5 separate regions of the Homo sapiens genome follow, and all the other regions are linked to region 4. Evidence: promoter capture Hi-C in 16 types of primary human blood cells and fetal thymus (Javierre and others, 2016). All regions are on one chromosome and are shown on one strand. The core of a region is centred on a gene start or on the middle of the fragment in contact, and the rest is flanking DNA. Distances in the headings are between cores, read along the strand shown.

Region 1 (2,700 bases), core at 159-2,658, 310 kb after region 4:
AGAAGGCCAGTTATAATTTCCTTTTCTTAAAAATTTCTTCATAAGGCATTGTCTACAATGTTAAATAAATTTAAACAAACATTTTACATAAAAGCAAATCATTCCTATATTAGGATAAAAGTATCAATTGTTAGTTTTCCCTTAAAATAACATTCAGGAACTTACTTCTCCAGCGTCCAGTAGCAGGTTGCAAACAATGAATATATTCAGTAAGTCTCCTCTCAAAAGCCTTGAGATCTAGGTATAAAGATGTCAATTTTCTAATTAGCCACTCTTACTCGTCTGACGAAATGTCAGAGTATTTACCTAACATTAAGACGACATGTGAGATACTCTTAACTGCTTCAGGTCTTACACACTAACTTCCATGTATCACTGCACTGTTTATTTCATTTACTATGACAGCTTTTTAAGCACTTGACAAAAAATTAGGGCTCTTTAATTCCAATTTCTCATATAAGAAAACTTGCTGATTTACTTTTAGAAGCTTCATAAATGGTATTGGGAGAAATAAGCAGCAGCCTCGGCCAGCGCCAAAAGCGAACATTTTCAGGGTTGCAAATAAAATTAAAATCAGGTCGAGTTTTAGCTCTCTGGGAACCAAGAACTTCCTATTAGAACCACGTAGTGCCTAACATCAAAGTCTTCGAGGTCTACCTGACTGCAATTACCCGCCTCCGGTTTCCAGCTCTTATATTTAATTAATGGCTACGCCGTCTGGCCTTACTAGACTTCTTGACACTGATAGCGAGTGGGTGTGGAAAGACATTCCCCTTGCCCCCTCCGAAGGGGTACAGGTGATCTTCGTGGCACCCAGGCAGCGCCTAGTTCTAGAAGACAGGGGCGTCTAAGCTGCTCCGAGTGAGTGGTGGGGTATCCTTTCCGCAGTGGTGTGCTTTAAACTTTAAAACACCGAGCAGCACTTCCTAACCTTGGCAGTTACCGGAAACCACCGCAGGAATCAGGGATACAACTCGCGGGGCTGTGAGAATGAAATGAAATGAATTAGCAGGCTGCAATGCACGAAGTGCAAGTGTCTGCCAGTGAAAAGAAAATAAAAATAGAAGCTGGCGAGGAGGTCGACCCTCTAGGTTTGTGGGGACTCAGGGAGCTGAGGCACCGCCCCCCGCGTCTGGCCAGGTACGGCCGCCTACGCGCCCCCAAGCTCCGGGCCCCTAGCTCCATCCTCTGCGGCCTCCTCCCGGGGCGGGGGTCTTCACGACGCCGGCTCCTCCGGAGCACCGCCAGCTTCCGAGGGGAGACGGGGGACGGGCCCGGGCGGCCCACCCTACCTTCCGCCTGCTCCAGCGAGTTCATGTCGGGCGGCAGCTCGGGTCACCGCCGCTGCCCTGTCCGCATCGCAGCTTCCGCGGCCCCCGCCCGGCCCGCAGCGCCAACTCCCACCTCTAACCGCTCCCCGCTGCCCCTCCCCGTCGCACCGCCCCTTGCCTAGACCCGCTACGCTCATTGGATTCCTCTACTAGACCTCCAACTAAGACAGCTTTCTATTGGCTGTCTCTTGCACCGGCCTCGGCGCCTAGCGTTGGACGGTCAGCCGGAGGGACCAAGAACTGCCGGCGGCCAGGCGGGCGTAACGCTGGCGTCGCCTGCTGCCCCGGGGAGGAACTGCAGCCCTCCGGAGCCAGTTCGTTCATTCATTTATCCCCCGTTCCCCGCTTGGTTCTTTCATTCGTCAAATGTTGATTGAGCGCCCACTACCTTCCAGGCATTATTCTGGTCGCTAGCGAGGGATACAGAAATCAAAGAGCTGGTTCTGTCCTCAAGGATCTCAAGGAGTAATGAAATCTGTACAGAACTAACTAGAACCCTAAATAACCAGTTTCCTTAATTATGGTATCCTAGATAACCAACCCCTTAAGTAAACACTTCTCTCTTGGTTACTTTCCTCTCACATCACCCAGCTTTCATAATTCCTAAATGAGGCAAAGTGTAAGCCCAAATACCTATAACTTAAGAAGAGATCTGTAAGGGATTGACTACATTTGTATTTGATCACAAGGCCTTCTTGTTCATTTATTGGTGGCATTCTTTCATTCAAAATCATTTTATTGCCTAACATGCTAGACACTGTATTGATACGCGTGTGAGCCAGGTAGACAGGATTCCTGCCCGCAAAGAGGAAGGGCTACAGCAGGCAACAAACATGCAAATAAGTAATTGATTTCAAATAAGAATAGTTGTGTTAAAATAGAGATCCTGGCCGGGCGCGGTGGCTCACGCCTGTTAATCCCAACACTCTGGGAGGCTGAGGCGCGTGGATCACTTGAGGTCAGGAGTTGAGACCAGCCTGGGCAACATGACAAAACCCTGTTTCTACTGAAAATACAAAAAAATTATCCAGACGTGGTGGTGCATGCCTGTAATCCCAGCTCTTTGGGAGGCTGAGGCACGAGAGTCACTTGAACCCAGGAGACGGAGGTTGCAGTGAGCCACTGCACTCCAGCCTGGGTGACAGCGTGAGACTGTCAAAAAAGAAAAAGAAAAAAAAAAGAATCTAAGACTGATGGGCTAGATTTTTTTGTGGCAGTAACATACCAACTTATAAACAAGACCTAAGGCCCTGCCAGGCAAGGGTTAAATCACTCAAGACCCAGACACTTAAAGAATAAACGATGTTCTAACTGCCACAATGTTCGTTTTTTTCCTCTAGCAGCTAAACAAGCAATATTAAAACAATTG
Region 2 (2,700 bases), core at 126-2,625, 270 kb after region 4:
CTTGTTCTATCACCCAGGCTGGAGTGCAGTGGTGTGATCATAGCTCACTGCAGCCTCGAACTCCTGGGCTCAAGCGATTCTCCTACCTCAGCCTCCTGAGTAGCTGGGATTACAGGCACCCACCACCATGCCCGACTAATTGTTTATAATTTTTCTACAGACGGGGTCTTGCTATGTTGCCCAGGTTGGCCTTGGACTCCTGGCCTCCAGTGATCCTCCTTCCTTGGCCTCCCAAAGCAATGGGATTACAGGTGTGTGCCACCGCGCCCGGCCCAAGAGCACCCAATTCAAACTTCCCACCCCCAACTCATCATCATCTCGTTTTCCCACAGCAATTCTCACTATTTAATATTATGTTTTACCTTTTTACTAGCTTCCTGTCTGTCTCCCCATCAACATGACTTGTGCCAAGACAGGGATCTTGGCTGTCAACAGATCTCGCTCAAAAGTCTTGGCTGCTCAAAGTCCCCTGCATCTAGAACGATTCCTGACACATGAACTGAAGAGTTCATCCAAGCAAGGGACCCTAAGGAGGGCTTTTGGAGAGTGTAAAACGTGCGCAAGGCGTGAGGGCAGGACGCCTGAGCAGGTGGACGCTGCAGGTGAAGCAGCCAGGTGGACAGATGAGATGCGGGGATACTGGGCTTCTCCGGAGCCTGGAGACTGGCTTCAAATCTCTGCAAACGGGAGACCGGGCCAGTGCCTGATGGCACACAGAAGGCGCTGGGTGACCGCTGCGACCGCCCGCAGCCCAGACGCGGGGGAGGCCAGCGGTGGGCACCGCCCCGCACCCTTCCTGGCTCACCTCAGCGCGCCGGCTGCAGTCTCCCTGACGGCCAGGCTGGGGTCTAGCAGCAGCGGCCCGAGGCGGCGCACGGCGTCTCGTCGCGCCAGGCCCGGGAGTGCCGGCCGCTGCTGCACCAGCCGGGCCAGCCCTGCGCAGGCGCACTCGCGGACCTCGGCGCTCGGGTGCTGGAGCTGCGGATGAGAGCGAAAAGGGTCAGAAGGCGCGCAATGCGCACGCGCGCGGGGCAACCTCGTCTCGCCTCCCGGCCCGACGGAGCCCTCGCCTCACCTTTTCCAGCAGCTCCGCCGCCGGCCCGTCGTCCTCCTCGCCTCCGGTCCCATTCGCCGCCGCAGCCGCCTCGGCCTGACAGTCGCCCGTAGGGGAGAACTGAGGTCGCTTGAAGCGCTTCGTCCGGCTCTTGCCCATGGTGACGTGCGCTGGGCGGACAGACCACCGAGAGAGGAGGGCAACAGCAGGCGGTGGAGGCTGCCGCGCCGTTAACAAGGTCCGTTGCTGCTGCTCAGCTGGGCCGGCTGACGGCTGCAGCACACATGGGCAAGCCGTGCGCAGGCGCACGGCGCGTCGTCTGCCGGGTCGGGGTTGGGGCGGGGCGGGGTGGGGGGAACTGGCGCACGGAGCGCGCAGGCGTGGAAGAGGGCATAGGCGGGGCCAGCTTCGGCAAAGGGGCGGAGCCTTGTGGGTTTACCGGGTAAGTAGGAGGTTGGACTAGAATAGTAACGCCGACCCGGGCGAGAGGATCACTTGAGGCCAGAAGTTCGAGACCATCTTGGGCAACATAGGAAAACACTCCACTCCCTGTCCTCCCCACCAAAAAAATTAAAAATTATCTGGGCATAGTGGCGTGTGTGTGTAGTCCCAGCTACTTGGGACGTTGAAGCCGGAGGATCACTTGACCCCAGGAGTTTGAGGCTGAGGTGAGCCGTGATCCTGCTACTGCACTCCATCCTGGGCGACAGAGCGAGACCCTGTCTCAATCAATCAATCAAGCAACCAATAAGTTAGTAACACCGGCTACAAATAATCAAATGTGATTAAGAATACCTAACTTGCAAGGTTATTGTAAGTTCTGTAAAGTTCATAAAGTTCTGTAAAGTGCCTAACACCAAGCCTGATATATAGCAGGTACTCAAAAAGCATTAACCACGATTTTATTTTGTGTCCCCAGCACCTCCCATAGCTCCTGTCGTAGACAGAGACTAGTTAATGTTTTGGAACGAATGTGTGTCTATATTTGATAAAACAGAATCGCTTAAGAACCTAATCTCCCTGCCTTAGTTTCCTCATCAGTGAAGTGGGGACATCGATAGTATATACCTCATGGAGTTGTTACGAAGACTAAATGTGTTCATATGTTTAAGGTGCTAAGAACAGAGACTGGCAGATACTAAGCACTATGTAAATGTTTGGAAACGTATTTAACAAAGAGATTCTTTTGCAGATATTTGTTGAGTACTAGGTACAGTGCTGGGCATTGGAATAAAGCAGTAATCAAGACAGTTTGGTTCCTGTCCTCTCTCCCTGTCCTTATGGAATTTACAGTCCAGGGAGAGATCTGTTGAATATATAATTATATGAATAACTTTGGTTATAATTGTGGTAAATACTAAGCAGAGGGAAAAGTACAGGAGAATCTTAGGTGGTCTTTATAATTAGACATGTAACGAGTGAGTACTCAATATATGCATAGCTTTGGGTCAATTTTCTTTTTTTCTTTTTGTTTTTGAAACAGAGTCTCACTCTGCTGTCCAGGCTGGAGTGCAATGGTGCGATCTCGGCTTATTGTAACCTCTGCCTTGGAGTTCAAGCAGTCCTCCTGCCTTAGCCTCCTAAGTAGCTGAGATTACAGGTATGTGCCACCATGCCCAGCTATTTTTTTTTTATTATTATTTTTA
Region 3 (2,700 bases), core at 201-2,700, 280 kb before region 4:
CCTCCCCAGAGCTACTCATCCCCCACTCTCAGTCTATCTAGTTTATGGAGACTGATCCCACTCCAGGGTCACACTGCACTCAGTACCCCTACCTGACCCAGCTTGTTTCATCCTGAAGGCCACGTGGCTGGTCCTAGGTCAGTATGAAAGAAGAGTTTATGAAGAAGCTAATGAAGCTAGGCTTCTGGGCCCTCTCACCTACACGGGCCCTTTCCAAGTCAGGATGGGTCTTTGCAAGGTGTTTATGTGGTCATATGTGTTTGTATTTGTAACATTTTCCAAATTAGGCATTTTATCCTCAATCTATTAAGATTGTCATCTAACCATTCTGACATCCTTTGCCTGTGTGAGGTGATACTAGGGGAAATACAGGCATTTCTGGACATGAGCTAAGGAGAGACTGAGTTGGTGAGATATTTATTTTGGTTTGGCCCCAGAAAGCTTCAGGTCCCATAAAACCTAGATCTACCCTGGTCAAGTGACCAGTAAAGTGGTCAATAAAGTGAGTCCAACATGTGCAAGAACCCCTGTGACCTGGGAACTTTCTTCCACCTGACAGGGCTGTGCTCATAGGATGGGAGTGCCCAGAGCTGGGAACTGCCACCCTTGCCCCCTGTGGGGGAGAAGCCACCAGGGGACAGAGGGAGAGATGATGGAGAGGGAGAGAGAGGGGCAGCGAGCGAGACATGTGTGTGAATGTGTGAGTATACGTGTGTGTGTGAGTGTGTGTGTGTGCGTGCATGTGTCCATGACATGGTTTTAGCTCCAGAATCCAAACAGGCCTTTTTAGGCAAGATCTACCCTAGGATTTTTCAATTTCATGAGCCAAAAGTTTAAGTGAGTTTCCAAAAGAACCGAAAGAATCCTGACTTAACAAATCCGTCTCTCTGAGATCCTGCTTTTTAGGAAAAACCACCAGCACCAGCACCACAGCAGTAATTCACTCACCCAGGGCAGTCCCTCTAGGGTGATTTCCAGCTTTTTCACCTGTGGGTGTCTGCCCCTTCCTGAGACCAGAAATGCCACCAGGGACTTCTTCTCCACCATCCTGCCTCCCAGCTGCATTTTACTGCCACTAGATTTTGCTTATGGACCAATTGTAACTGAGGGGAAACAAAAAAGGGGGAAAAGCGGGTAGGGGAGGAAATCCTTCTCAACAAATAACATTCTGGCCTTTTTTTCCTCATCAGAGCATAAGGCTGGTGGCCACTCGGCTTTGACATCTGAACAGGATTGAGACGAAACATCTGTTCAGGGAGGGAGGGGGAAGCCCCGGGAGAGAAGGGGAAAGGGGAGAAAAAGCCTTCTGTGGGCTAAAAATATCACGTCCCTTCCACTCTCCCCCGCCCGCCCCCACCCAAGTTAAAACATGTGATGAAATTCGGCTTTTACAATCTAACCCCGAGCTACTTGAAACTATTAAAGCCTCTCCGGTATCTGACACAAGTCAGAATTTCCACTGTTCCAGCTGAGCTTTTATGAGGAGCAGACTTGAGAGAAACTGCCAAGGTAACAAAGTCCGCTTGTTCTCTGTCACCGCTGCAACTCAGCTTCTGGGGGGACTGTAGGGGAGTGGAGAGTCAGGGCCGCTGACACCCCCCGACAGGACAGGCTCTGAACTGAGGGAGAGGAGCCGGCGGGGCATGGGCACCTGCCCCTCCATCTGGGGGTCCCTGCTGCCTTCCCATGAACTCCTCTTCCTCCCAGCCTTCCTGGGAAGCCACCGCCAGCCCTGTGTATTGAGGAGCCTTGCCCGAGAGTCCCGGGCAATGTCCGTGGCTACTTCCTGAGAAGTCTTGACTCGCTCTCTCTCTCTGTTTCTTGCCCAACTGCTCCTTGAACCCCAAGCTCCAATCACCAGGTATCCCACGGCCTCCTCGGTACCTCTCCTTGGATGTTAAATGGGCATCTTGAACCCAACTGGTCCAAAAACGGGAGGCTTGATGGTCACCCGCCAAAACCTCCACCTCAGAAGTGACACCGCCAAATCCTTAGTTCCTGAAACCAAAAGTCTAAGATGCATCCCTGATCTCTCTCGTTCCCTCAACCCCCTTCTCACCAGCTCCAACCTCCAGCCCCATGGACCTCTCCCCAGCCCCAAGCTCCCAGGCTAGGCCAGCACCATCTCCTCTCGCCTGCGACCCTGCAGTCACCTCCTGGTTTCATTGCCCTCTTCCTCCCTGCCCATGGGCAGTCCCTCCCAGAAGCCAGAATTAACTTCTTAAAACAGAGGTCAGAATCCAGCAGTCACCCACCCAACCATCTGGGCAGAACCACGCAACCTAAGGGCGTGGTCCCACACTTGCCGACCACCCCACTCTCATTCCTGATGCCACATCGGCCTCCTTTTTGTTCTTCCCCAAACACCAAGTTCCCTCCACTCTGGGGTTCTGCTCACTCATAGCTGCTCTCCCCCTACATTCTTCCATGGCTGGCTCCTTCCTGGCATCTGCATCTCAGCTGAAACATCACCTTCTCAGAAAAGCCTCCTCACTCTACCTCTCCCTGGGTTTTACGTCTTAGCAGAGAACCACTACTAGAAACTTCCATGCTCCTTCGCAGATTTATGTATTCATCCCTGCCTCCCTCCTGTGAATGTCGTGACTGCTGGGCCTGCCTACCTTGCTCGTGCCTGTGAACCCAGGGCCCAGCAGAGCCCCTAGCTGCAGCAAATGCCCAGCACATACTGAATGGTGAGGA
Region 4 (2,700 bases), core at 105-2,604:
AGTCATGCGCTGCATAATACTGTATATACAGACTGCATATACAGTGGTGGTTCCATAAGATTGTAATACTGTATTTTTACTGTACTTTTGTTATATTTAAATGCACACATACTTAGCATTGTGTTACAGCTGTCTGCAGTATTCAGTATGGTAACATGCTGTATAGGTTCCTAGCCTAGGAGCAGTAGGCTATATCATTTAGCCAGGTGTCTGATAGGCTATACCATCTAGGTTTGTGTGAGTGTACTCATTGATGGTCACACAACAAAATTGCCTAACAGTACATTTCTCAGAACGCGTCCCTTCATTAAGCTACATGTGACTATATACAAATGAGAGAAAATTTGAAACTGTCTCAAAACCACCTCTCCACAACAGCAGACTCTTCCTTAAAGGGTAAGAATTAGTGCATAGTAAGTCATTTGAGGTCAGAGAAGTGTGTGCGTAGGCACAGACACATCATCATCAAACTGCAGGAAAGAGCGTAAACATGAGATATTATACACAGTGGCAAAAAATTACTAGTGTCCCCAGGACGACAGTTGATAAAAGGCTTTGAAGGGTAAGCTGAGATGATCACTGTGCATCCGCTGGAGAAAATAACTCGCAAGATAAGCCATATCTTTTGAGGTTTTTCTCACCACTCTGAGTGGGAGAAACCTATGTAAGAGACTACTTTAGGGAACGAATCAAGGGTGATCCTGGCACCATACCATACCATGGCAGGCAGGCAGAAGAGAGTTTTCATTTTAGCTCTCTTCCACTAACTTGTGGACTTTGGGCAAGACATTAACTACCCTGGGACTCAGTGTTCTCATCCCTAAAGAAGGGTTTAGTCTGTGGTCTCCAAGATGATTTCTAGCATTACTGTTCTGATTCTAGATAAGAGGTAGAGTAGAGAGGATACTATGAAAAAGAACCACAAGATAGGACAGGGATTTTGCAAAGAAGAAATGAGTGGGTATAAGACACTGGTAGAAGGAGAAAGGAATCAGAGTCCAGAGCTTGAGCTCACATTCAGGGGAGTTAAAGGATGATAAAAATGAGTCGTGCATCTGCATGTGGTTTTTCGATTTTTATGGTGATTCATTTTTCTGTATTACAGTTTTACATTTAAAGAAATGCCTTGGTGTGCAGATGTCTGAGTGTCTGTATGCTTGGCTGAGAGATTCTTGGATTCACTTAACTAGAGAAAGAAAAACATGTTTGGATTGTTGATTATTCTTGCGCTCCTAATATTTAGACAACTTTGGTTCCCACCCTTTCCTAAAGACTTGGGAAACTAATGGAAGCCAGTTACCCATCTTTGACAACATTCGCAGAGGAAAGAGGAATATGAAATGTTTACCCATTCTTTGCAGGAAGACTCTCAGAATCTAGAACCATGCCATATTCCAGGTTTAAAGACATGGAAATGCTTCTTGTTAATGTATTTGAAGTAAAAATGCATTTGTCAAATGCAGCCTTTAGTCACTCCAAAATATGTACATTGAATTGGGTGGTGGGAGCCTAATTTTTAATGACCTTTGATTTACCACTTCCTTAAGTAATGTAGTTAATACAACAAGCAAAAGATTCCATTATCTCTTGAATTTTACTGGCGTGTGGAATGGTTGAAAGCACAGAAAATAAAATTTTCTTCACTTTCCCTTCCCTCTCTCCCTCTTTCTTTCTCTCTGTTGTCTTCCTTTTTTTCAGATCTTTTGCTGTTGAGGAGCCCCACCCATCCTGTGTTATTAGCTTCCTATTGACTGTTCTCTCCACCCTACAGGGGAGGGGTCGTCACAACAGTGATTTTTAAACGTTTAAATTTAGACCTTTTGAGTTAACTCTTCTAATAGTTTGTGCTCCAAGAGAGCCCAGCACACCCTTCCGTGAATGGTGTCTTTTCAAAGATAACTGTTTTTGAATGTTCATTGAAAAAATTGTAGAGTAGTCACTCATCATTTTTTCAGTTACACTCAAATAACAACTATTAGTAGACGTGTTATTTTTATAAAGAATGAACAGATGAGGCCAGGAACAGTGGCTCATGCCTGTAATCCCAACACTTTGGGAGGCTGAGGTGGGCGGATCATCTGAGGTCAGGAGTTTGAGACCAGCATGACCAACATGGAAAAACTCCGTCTCTACTAAAAATACAAAATTAGTTGGGCGTGGTGGTGCATGCCTGTAATTCCAGCTACTCAGGAGGCTGAGGCAGGAGAATCGCTTGAACCTGGGAGGTGGAGGTTGTGGTGAGCCAAGATCACGCCACTGCACTCCAGCCTGGGCAACAAGAGGGAAACTCCGTCTCAAAAAAAAAAAAAAAAAAAAAGAAGAATGAACAGATGAAGAGTAACTTTTTATCTCCTAAATAAATACTTGAGTAAAATGCTGCATTGTAGTACAAACAAAGTAGTACAAACAATACTATTTGTAGCATAGTGGCTTTGAAATCAGACCAATCAAGGTTCAAGTCCTAGCTCTACCCTTTGGAAGCTGTGTGACTTTAGCCCAGGTAACCTTTGTCAGCCTTTTTCCTGTCCTGTAAAGTGGGGATAATAGTAGTACTTACCTCATGGAGTTGTGTCTGGCACATGGGTAAGCACTAAGTAAATGTTAGCTATATTATTAGCAAAGAACCAGCCCTGTTAGCCATTTAATATTGTAAAATTGAAGATCAATAATGTGCTGACTTGGAGGCATTTTAATTACCAA
Region 5 (2,700 bases), core at 25-2,524, 400 kb before region 4:
CAAATCCACCTACTGCTCAGTGGGGAATGGGAGGCTAAATTCTTAAGGCCATTCAGTCTACTTGGGGCGTGAGGGGGTGTGTAGAAAGCCAACAATCAAACGAACACCCTCTCAAGGCCTGGGTGCTTCTCTGAGAGCCAATGATTGCAAAATGAACAATCTTATTAAGATCCCTAATTAGCCCGAATTCAAAAGCAAGGTAGGCATGCTCCTTAGCTGAGCTAAGGATAAAACTTTCCAGGAAAAATTGAGGAGAAGAAGGTGGCAGGGATGATGGGGGCTGGGAGACTGCAAGGCCACAGGCTTGGTGGCTGGAAGATGACAACTATCCTAAAACATTCAAATGCCAAGGGGTGGAAGAGAAACGATGCCAAGTACATGAATAACCGGCAGCTGACCCAGCTGAGTACCAAACTCAACACCATCTCCTGAAGATTTCATGACTTCGCCCCCGCCCCCCATTCGCCCCCCACCCCCCTCGATTGTTAACATGAAAGAAAAACATAAAGAAAGAATACCTGTCACAGCAGGGCGCACCTTTCAACTAAGGAACTCCGGGTGGCTGTGTAGAACCATCCTCACCCTAGAAAGGGGGAAACTGAAAGAAAAAGCAGAACACGCCATTAACAAGGCCAGAACCCCGACTGCCATTCCTGGACGGGAGCCACCAACACCCGCAAAATCGATCGGTACGTACGCCCCGCGGCGCGGTCGGTAGGAATCACAGCCCCGGGCTCCTGAGGCCAACCGTGGCCGTCGGGGCCCGCCAGCGGCCTGTGCCTCAGTCTCCCAATCTGTAAATGGGGTGGGGGGCGGGAGGGGGACAGCGTCCCGCGCGGCTCCCGCCCCAAGTCCTCTCTCCTCTGGGGGTCCCGATGGTGGCGACCCCGCACGCTCCCCGGACTCGCAGCCCTCCCGGGAAGCCTCGGGGGATGGGGAAGCCCCGGTGGGGGGGGGAAACCCGGGCTGACGTCAGCGGGCTCGGCAACCCGCGGGCCCGGCCGGCTCGGGCCCGGGCAACTAACGGGCCGGCGCCGAGGGCCCGATGGTCGCCGCGGCGGCTCCGGACGCCCTGAGGCCAGGCGGCTGCGCCGAGGGGATCCGGCCGCCCGCCGGCCGCCAGCCGCCCGCTCATTCACTAACCTCGGGCGGCGGGGCGTCGCCCCTCGCCCCGGCTCCCCAGCCCGCGTCCCGGGCCGGCCCCGGCTCCCCACACCCACCGCCCTAGTATTTACCTCCGACGCGCGGCCCCCGCGCAGCCAAACCTGCTACCTGGGCCCGCCCCCACCTGCCCCGCCTCCGAACCGCACAGGGAAGAGGGAGGGAGCGGGGGCGGAGGGGGCAGCCGCCGCGCTAGCCAATCGTAGGCCGAGCTGCGCTCCTGAGCGGGCCGTGATTGGGCCTCCCTGTGACAGACCTTCCTCCAATGGCTGCCAGCCCGGCGCCGGCCGAAGGGACTTTCCGCTCTGTCAAGCTCGGTGGAACCAAAGGGAAAGCGAAGGGGCGGGGCAGAGAAGAGCGGCGGATGGAGGCGGGAAGCTCAAGCTGATTGGGCGAAAGGCTGTGGGTGCCGCGTCACCATTGGCTGATGCTGGAGCCGGGGCGGGGCGCTGCGCTGCCACCAGCTCCGCCTCCCGTGCTCCCGCCTCAGCTGTCAAAACTGTAGACGCTTAGGTTTGGGCTGGGTTAAGAGTCCAGATGAAGGTTGAAATAGGATTCCAGGATGCCGTGAGAGAGCAAAGCTTTAGAATCAGACCTCAGTTTGAATCTTTGGCGCTTTCATTCAGTGGCTGCGTGACCTGAGGAAGTCACAACCACGCTGAGCCTCAATGTCCTCATCTGTAAAATGGAGATCATAGTATCGGTTGTCTTACAGGATTGTGGCAAAATACCGAGCTAAAGTTCCTGGCACGCAGTACCAGCTCAGGAAAGGTTCATCTCTTCCTCCTCCGCAGATTCAGCCTGGGACGCTTGCTGTTTCCGAACCTCTGTTGCCACCTATCCCAGTTTGGAGGGAATTTTCCCAAGGATGGTGAAGAAGGGATTTCCACACGCCGCCTCACTCAGCCCCGCACCCCTGGCCACCAGCCAGGACTTAGGGTGTAGTTAAGGATCTTTCAATTAGAAGGGAGGCTTCTGATTCCCAAAAGCACTCAAAATATTTAAGGAAGTGCTTTTTATAATCAGTCCTAGAGCCTTGCTGCACTGGATACTCCTGTTAATTAATTTCTTCTCCTTTGACATTTTAAGTGCTAATTATAGGAGAAGGTGATTAACACTGAGAAAGGAGGAGGGGTGTGTGTGTGTGTGTGTGTGTGTGTGTGTGTGTTTTTAATCATGACACAAATTTCCCCCAGTGGAAAGTGACATGTTTCTGGAGATCCAGGGAATTTAAACCAATGAATACATAAAAACAGTCACATGAGTGATGACTAACAGTAGCAGTAGACAGGCCACCACTCTTCCTTGCCATAGTCATCCAAAATGAAATGAGCATCTTTTGAAAACCTAAGCCTCATTCTACTCCTGTCCCTCTTTTGTCACTCCTATCTTCCTGTTTTCCAGGCTTCATGACCACACTGCTGTAGGAAGCCATAAGTTGGAAATCAACGGGCCTGGCTTGAAGTGTGGCCTTAGGCAACACCGTTCTCATCTACATCTGGATTCTCCAACAAAGCTGGTAGGACTCAGAGGTCACAG

What was found. The method cuts DNA at HindIII sites, captures the fragments that hold promoters and counts their contacts. A CHiCAGO score of 5 or more calls a contact.
Region 1: the fragment with the promoter of CNEP1R1 here is called in contact with a fragment that was not itself captured in region 4 in 3 of 17 cell types (neutrophils, naive CD8 T cells and M2 macrophages); the score reaches 7.8 in neutrophils.
Region 2: the fragment with the promoter of HEATR3 here is called in contact with a fragment that was not itself captured in region 4 in 1 of 17 cell types (neutrophils); the score reaches 7.8 in neutrophils.
Region 3: a contact is called between the fragment with the promoter of NKD1-AS1 here and a fragment that was not itself captured in region 4, in 3 of 17 cell types (non-activated CD4 T cells, naive CD4 T cells and activated CD4 T cells). The highest score is 7.0, in non-activated CD4 T cells.
Region 5: the fragment with the promoter of CYLD here is called in contact with a fragment that was not itself captured in region 4 in 12 of 17 cell types (naive CD4 T cells, total CD4 T cells, naive CD8 T cells and 9 more); the score reaches 21.6 in naive CD4 T cells.

What each region holds. Positions count from the first base shown.
Region 1 is chr16:50,023,933-50,026,632 of GRCh38, reverse strand. CNEP1R1 (CTD nuclear envelope phosphatase 1 regulatory subunit 1) reads right to left here and starts at 1,408. Exons shown (of 6, transcript NM_001281789.2): 1 at 1,293-1,408; 2 at 166-237. The coding sequence starts at 1,317. RefSeq lists a silencer at 1,095-1,404 and an enhancer at 1,218-1,719. The HindIII fragment of the contact is 11,127 bases long and covers 490-2,700 here.
Region 2 is chr16:50,064,645-50,067,344 of GRCh38, reverse strand. HEATR3 (HEAT repeat containing 3) reads right to left here and starts at 1,375. Exons shown (of 15, transcript NM_182922.4): 1 at 1,076-1,375; 2 at 806-978. The coding sequence starts at 1,213. HEATR3-AS1 (HEATR3 antisense RNA 1) reads left to right here and starts at 1,021. Exons shown (of 3, transcript NR_186390.1): 1 at 1,021-1,292; 2 at 2,538-2,654. RefSeq lists silencers at 653-912, 993-1,042, 1,373-1,422 and an enhancer at 1,273-1,567. The HindIII fragment of the contact is 22,013 bases long and covers 1-2,700 here.
Region 3 is chr16:50,612,400-50,615,099 of GRCh38, reverse strand. It overlaps NKD1-AS1 (NKD1 antisense RNA 1), which reads left to right and starts at 1,450. Exons shown (of 3, transcript XR_007065197.1): 1 at 1,450-1,509. The region is part of intron 4 of NKD1 (NKD inhibitor of Wnt signaling pathway 1); the gene reads right to left. The HindIII fragment of the contact is 2,641 bases long and covers 444-2,700 here.
Region 4 is chr16:50,336,874-50,339,573 of GRCh38, reverse strand. The region is part of intron 6 of BRD7 (bromodomain containing 7); the gene reads left to right. Among named protein-coding and RNA genes, the nearest start is that of BRD7, 31 kb to the left of the region's middle. The HindIII fragment of the contact is 6,225 bases long and covers 1-2,700 here.
Region 5 is chr16:50,740,660-50,743,359 of GRCh38, reverse strand. It overlaps CYLD (CYLD lysine 63 deubiquitinase), which reads right to left and starts at 1,274. Exons shown (of 19, transcript NM_001378743.1): 1 at 1,236-1,274; 2 at 519-598. It overlaps CYLD-AS1 (CYLD antisense RNA 1), which reads left to right and starts at 613. Exons shown (of 7, transcript NR_184279.1): 1 at 613-689; 2 at 1,956-2,032; 3 at 2,566-2,680. It overlaps MIR3181 (microRNA 3181), which reads right to left and starts at 1,055; the gene lies at 983-1,055. RefSeq lists an enhancer at 520-619 and a silencer at 860-1,459. The HindIII fragment of the contact is 2,791 bases long and covers 1-1,744 here.